Linked DNA regions of Homo sapiens: region 1 is linked to region 2. Evidence: promoter capture Hi-C in 16 types of primary human blood cells and fetal thymus (Javierre and others, 2016). All regions are on one chromosome and are shown on one strand. The core of a region is centred on a gene start or on the middle of the fragment in contact, and the rest is flanking DNA. Distances in the headings are between cores, read along the strand shown.

The links. The method cuts DNA at HindIII sites, captures the fragments that hold promoters and counts their contacts. A CHiCAGO score of 5 or more calls a contact.
Region 1: a fragment that was not itself captured here is called in contact with the fragment with the promoter of GPBP1L1 in region 2 in 1 of 17 cell types (fetal thymus); the score reaches 6.3 in fetal thymus.

Annotation. Positions count from the first base shown.
Region 1 is chr1:46,248,830-46,251,779 of GRCh38, reverse strand. It overlaps RAD54L (RAD54 like), which reads right to left. Exons shown (of 18, transcript NM_003579.4): 3 at 1,661-1,780. Among named protein-coding and RNA genes, the nearest start is that of RAD54L, 2.5 kb to the right of the region's middle. The HindIII fragment of the contact is 894 bases long and covers 1,193-2,086 here.
Region 2 is chr1:45,684,632-45,687,837 of GRCh38, reverse strand. GPBP1L1 (GC-rich promoter binding protein 1 like 1) reads left to right here and starts at 1,305. Exons shown (of 13, transcript NM_021639.5): 1 at 1,305-1,426; 2 at 2,218-2,262. RefSeq lists enhancers at 665-994, 1,015-1,134, 1,205-1,254, 1,315-1,464, 1,091-1,689. The HindIII fragment of the contact is 19,533 bases long and covers 1-3,206 here.

The DNA.
Region 1 (2,950 bases), core at 390-2,889, 560 kb before region 2:
CGCCACCATGCCCAGCTAATTTTTTTTGTATTTTTGGTAGAGATGGGGTTTCACCATGTTGCCTGGGTTGGTCTCAAACTCCTGAGCTCAAGCTATCCGCCTACCTTGGCCTCCCAGAATGCTGGGATTACAGGCATGAACCAACATGCCCACCCAACACCATTTTTTAAAGTTCAAAGAACCAATTAAACAATGTATTAGTGATTTTTTTTTTGAGGTGGTCTCACTCTGTTGCCAAGGCTGTATTAGTGATTTTTATATGTATGCTAAAACTATCATAAAAGCAAAAGATGATGGATAAAATTCAAGATAGTGATTACCTCTGGGGATGGGAAAAGGGATTATGGGTTTGACAATGTTCTAGTCCTGGATGATGGGTTCACGGGTGTTTGTGTTTTATAACTTATGTAATATATCTATATTTATCAAGTATTACACAAAACTGTTGTTTTTTTGTTGTTGTTTTGGGGACGGATTTTCACTCTTGTCGCCCAGGCTGGAGTGCAATGGCATGATCTCGGCTCACTGCAACCGCTGCCTCCCGGGTTCAAGTGATTCTCCTGCCTCAGCCTCCCAAGTAGCTGGGATTACAGGCATGCACCACCATGCCTGGCTAATTTTCTCTGTATTTTTAATAGAGACGGGATTTCACCATGTTGGCCAGGCTGGTCTTGAACTCCTGACCTCAGGTGATCCATCCACCTCGGCCTCCCAAAGTGTTGGGATTACAGGCGTGAGCCACTGCGCCTGGCCCAAAACTGTTTTCATTTAGTTGTTTTGTTTTGTTTTTTGTTTTTTGTTTTTTTTTTTTGAGACCGAGTCTCACTCTTGCCCAGGCTGGAGTGCAGTGGCGTGATCTTGACTCACTGCAACCTCGGCCTCCCGGGTTCAAGTGATTCTCATGCCTCACTTGAGTAGCTGGGACTACAGGGGTATGACACCATGCCCAGTTAATTTTTGTATTTTTAGTAGAGACGGGGTTTCACCATGTTGGCCAGGCTGGTCTCAAACTCCTAACCTCAGTTGATCCACCCATCTCAGCCTTCCAAAGTGCTGTGATTACAGGCGTGAACCACCCGACCCGGCCACAAAACCGTTTTTAAATGTTTGCTGAATGCACAAATGACTAATCTCCATTATGTATTCCTACTTTTCCTTCAAAACATTCCTCATAAAGCTTAGTGGAAAAGCTTTGGAGATAGACAGATCTGCTCCACCCACTCTGAGCAAATTACTTAACCCTTCTGAGACTGTTTTCTCATCTTAAAACGTGAGAATTACATGAGGCAATGCACAGAACCTGCCATGGTGGTGATTAAGTTTGACTTTACTAGAGGAAATACATGACTCTGGTACACCTTAAAGTCATATACAGAGTCAGAGTCTGAGCTGACATGAGGATCCTAGTTCCTTTACCCTCCTTTCCTCAGGAATCTGAACCATCTGATATCTGGTGCCCATGTAGCTACTATAAACCAGGCACAAGTCAGGCACACCTCTCTAAGCAGGCCCCAGCAGCTGTGGGCAGGTCCAAAGCCCCTACAGATGTGTGTCTTCTGGCCACTCTAGAAAGCACTGAGGGAGTGTACAGGGACAGGAGTCTACCTAGGCTGAGTGACTGGGCACAGACATACACATGCAGGTTGCAGTTCTGGCTTACATGCTGACTGCTGTCCAGACAAGGTGGTTGATTGGTTAGCTGACTCAAAGGTTTCCGAAAAGGAGACAGGAAACACTCCTGGATCTGGGTCTCACTGCTGGATTTCCGTTTCCTAGGAGTCTAGGAGAGAGAATTGGGAAAGGTGAAGTCTAGAAGACCACAGAAATCACCATAATGGCAACTAACACTTGAAGTGCTTATTAAGTGCCAGGCACTGTGCTAAATTCTTCACACATGTCATAGTGTATCATCTTCATAGCAACTCTATTATGTAGAGTTATTATCCTTATTTAAGAGGTGAGAAAACTAGAGCTTAATGAGATTAAATAACCTGCCTAAACTGAGCGGGGCAATGGAAGAGGTAAATAAAATGGGCCTCTGAAGAGCAAGTCTACCAACAGCATGGAGTCCTGGTGGCCCAAAGCTTCACTCCAAAAGCTCCATGGAATGATGGAGCAACCAAACATTTCGCTGAGTTTCCAAGAGGCAAGAATACAGCTGCCTTCAACTCCCAGGCCACTGAGGCCACTCCCCACTCAGGCCACCCATGGCTGTGAGGACACTGGCACTAAAAGCATCTTCAGAAGCAACCAGCAACTGACAGCAGACCCAGATGCAGAGAATGCTGCCCCAAGTTCAAGTCTGAGACCCATGTACATGGCAAGGGTCAGCCAATGTGCCTCCTTCACAGGTAGAGAAGCCCCTTGCACACCACGGTACAACTATTGAGCAAGCCCCATCAAGCCATTAGGCAAGAACACACTTGTACCAGCTTGCCAGGATATTTGAAGCCTCAGTGATCCTGTAAGACACACCTGAAACAAACACCAGCACCCCTACCCCACACCTTATTCACACACTGCTCCTGCCAAAAAGTGCCTTCTAGTCCTTGCGTAGCTGATCCCTTCCTTCAAAGTTCCAGTGGCCAAGCCCCCACTTCTTGAACTGCTCTTATTCTCTGAAGTCCATGCTGCACTGTCCTATTTATTTTGGTTTACATAGGTCCTGCCCACAGCCAGCCCCAACAAGCCTCCAAAACAGGAAGCAGAGCCCAGGGCCCAACCTAAAGTAGAATATACTGTACTTGAGTATGAGCAAGGACTGGAAGGACACAACCTGTCAGATCTAGGCCCAAGTGAGCCCAGGACTCCAAGGTAGGCCCAGAACACTCTACTGTTCTGTGACACTGGGCAGGGGACAAAGAGCAAAAGAGCCAGCTGCTAATTGCTGTTGTGTAGCCCTTTTTTCCAAGCAGAGTCAAAAGGTCCAATCCAACTGGCTCTTTTGCTT
Region 2 (3,206 bases), core at 56-2,555:
TATGGGGACACATCTCACTGCATTAGGGCCCTTTACTATCATTTAGAGGGGGAAAAAAGCCCAGTTCTTACATCCATTTTCTTTGCTGGGACCTATAAACTTCATTAAGGGTTAAAGAGCACAAGAGCAGGATTTTCACTTCCATGAAAGGTGTGGTGATAAGGGCCCTAGGCTTGGGGGTGGTTCGGAAAGTCAGATCATTTCTCCTACTGCCCTCGGCTTTATTTCTCGGCTATGTGACCTTGGGCAAGTCCCTTCTCTTATCTAGACTTGTTTCACAGGAAATGGCACCAGGCAATTTTAGTGCCCTTCCGTGTCTATGGATAAAACTGAAGACATGTAGTAGGAGATCTCAGGGGCCCACGCCGGCCAGTCCCTCCAATCCTCCGGATTCTAGGTAGTCTAGCTTCCTGGTTGCCAGCCATTACACGGTTTAGCTTTCCGTGCCGGATGGAGCCACAGCGAAGTCTTCCTTAATAGTAAGCGCTTTTAGTCGAGCTAGGCCTTCAGTTTTATTGCCTTCTCTGTCATGGCAGCGCCGCCCCTTCCAGTAGTGCGATACCCAATGAGACTTCAGGTAGGAGAAACGGCACTGTCGCAAGCGCAGGCTCTCGCCGGAATCCCGCCCTTCGCTTGGGCGGGGGAGTGACGCCTGCGCTCCAGGGGAACTACTACTCCCAGCGGGTAGCGCGGCCGACGCAGCCGCGCAGCCTCCGGGGCCAGGCCGTGTGGCCCGCTGGGGACTGGAGTCTCAACGACGCGCACACGAGAAGTAAGGAGCGGAAGGTGGGAAAGGGCCGGAAAACACACGTTCCTCCGAAACCGGTTTGCAAGTCCTTGTAGAGGTAGTTTCGGGACGCGCACTGGCCAAGGGGCGGGCTGTGGGAGGGTGAAGAAAAAAGGGATACACACATGCATACCCACCCACTCATTCATACGCGCCCAGGCCCTGGAAGTGGGCAAGGGGGTTAGAAGGGGCGTACTAAACTAGGCTTGTCCGTGCCTCAGGCGGCACGAGGAAAGGCAGAGGATTCAATTCTGTAGGGGGCAGAGGTGACCATGCGCCGCCTCAAGCGGCGAAGAAGGGAGCCGGGGGCGGGGCAGGGCATAACCGCCGTTCTGGAGGCCGAACGTTGGCAGCGTAGGGAACTGGCGTCCGGGAGGGTCGCCGGAGCAGTCCCTTGCGCATGCGCTTCTTCAGGTGGGCGTGTGTAAGGCGGGGTCGGACGGGGGATGGGAGGGCCGTGCTGCTGGTCGCTCCTCCTCCTCCACCCGCTCTGCCCCTCCTGGACCTTGTGGGCCGGGCAGCCATTTTGGGAAGAGCTTTGTTATGGTTGTGGACTAGCCGCCTCTGCCGGGTCGACAAGCTGGGGACGCGTCCTCAGACGCAGCGTCTAGTCCCTGGCCATAGCTCCGCCGCTGCCCGGTGAGTGGGAGTTTGGGAAACGGGGCAGTAGGAGATCCTGGAGTCGTTCTGGCGCGGGGCTCCGCCCGGTGCCTAACCAACGGGCTGTTAAAACTAGTTGAAAGAAGCTCTCACACAGGTGGTTGGGTATAGGTCCGACCCGAGAGGGGCGAGCGGAGCCCACGGGTCAAGTGGTTCGGATGCGGCACCCCCGCCTCCCCCGTGCATGGAGCTTTGCACGCGAGCGTCGCCGGGGCTCCGCGAAAGCGCTCCTACTTTAACTTCGGTCGTCGGGTCGGAACGCTCACCTGCGGCTCTTTGGCTCCTCTCCAGGCGATCCGGCTTGGTGCTCGTTGAGTGACTTGGCTTACGGGTTTTTTTCTTTCCTTCTTGAAATGAGAGCTAAGGGCTTTTGTTTTCCTTCAAAGGAAAACCTAAGGAGGAAAAAGTGTAAGTCAAATGTTGGATATCTGAGGGGAAAAAAGTTTTAACCCCCAGCTTTCCGGTTCTCTGTGGTAGCGAGGTGTTTTCGCTTAGATTGAGTCTATCCGATATCTACCAACCTCCTTTCCTTGGAGGGGCAGGGAAAGCTGGTCGATCCTGAAATGTTTTAAGTGTTATTTTTTTTCTGTTGTTTTAAATCTAGTTCTCCCCAACCCGTGAAATTCGAAAGACAGTCTGAATCCAAAATGGCTGTAGCTTGGGGAAGTGCCCTGCCCTTCGATTACTTAAATACATTAACGTTTAAAGATTTTAGTCCTTTCCCCTGTGGGGACATTAACTGAATCTTTTGATATTTTGGTTTTTTGCAGTTGGTGTCTCACCTTTAACTCTCCTTATGCTGGGTGAAAACAAAGGTGAGGCTCACAAAGTTGACTATTCCAAAAGTTTACATAAGAATGGGTGCGGTGCGGTGGTGTGTGTGTTTAATAGTTGCTTATAGTTTTGAAATTGTGCTGTGGTGTCAATTTTATCTGCCAACTTCGTGCTCTGAAGTTGGCTTGTCATATTTGTTGAAATATTTTTAACATTGACATTTATTGCTTACCAGAAAAATACAGTTAATAATAGTGGTTCATGTTTTAGTTTAGTAGTAAGTCGTGTTCTTGTGTAAATCTTATCCAAAAGTAAAGTGATTGGTAGTCACTCCTCATTAGACTTATATTTGTAATTTAGTAGACTGCTGATCTTTTCTAAGGTCTTTTTTATCCAATATTTGAAAGGAAATTAGGGTGCTATTAAGTTTGAGATATTTACTAGAATAGTGTAAGACATTTTAACAAGTGAAAACATACTTTAGGTATGGAGTACCTGATTGTCGTGCCCTTTTGAACAAGAGACTGTCTTTTGTTTGCTTTTTTTTTTTAATCGATAGATCCAGAAGTTTAAACAAAAAGTCATAGATTGGAAACCAAAACCAATAAATTTCAATATTTGGAAAGGTGCTGAAGCCTGTATCTATTTAAAAGATAAAAGAGTGAAATGCTAATTGTGAATGAGAACTTTGAAATTAATAGTAAAATAAACTCATCTTTCCTAGGGAGTCAGTTTTCAATGTACCTTTTGACGTTTTTTCAAATACAAAAGTTGGTTTTTGTTAATACCCCTAGGATTTTTTGTTGTTGTTGTTAAATTATTTTGGTGGTTTTACAGGAAAAATATTTAAAGTTTTTAATAGAAATTACAAGCTAGTTGCTTTGTGTTTTGTCACTGTTAACTACTAAACTGGAGTGAGATATTGATTTTTTGGGGGGGTACTCAGTGGTTTGTACATGTTAATATAAACATTCAGTTGATTCTG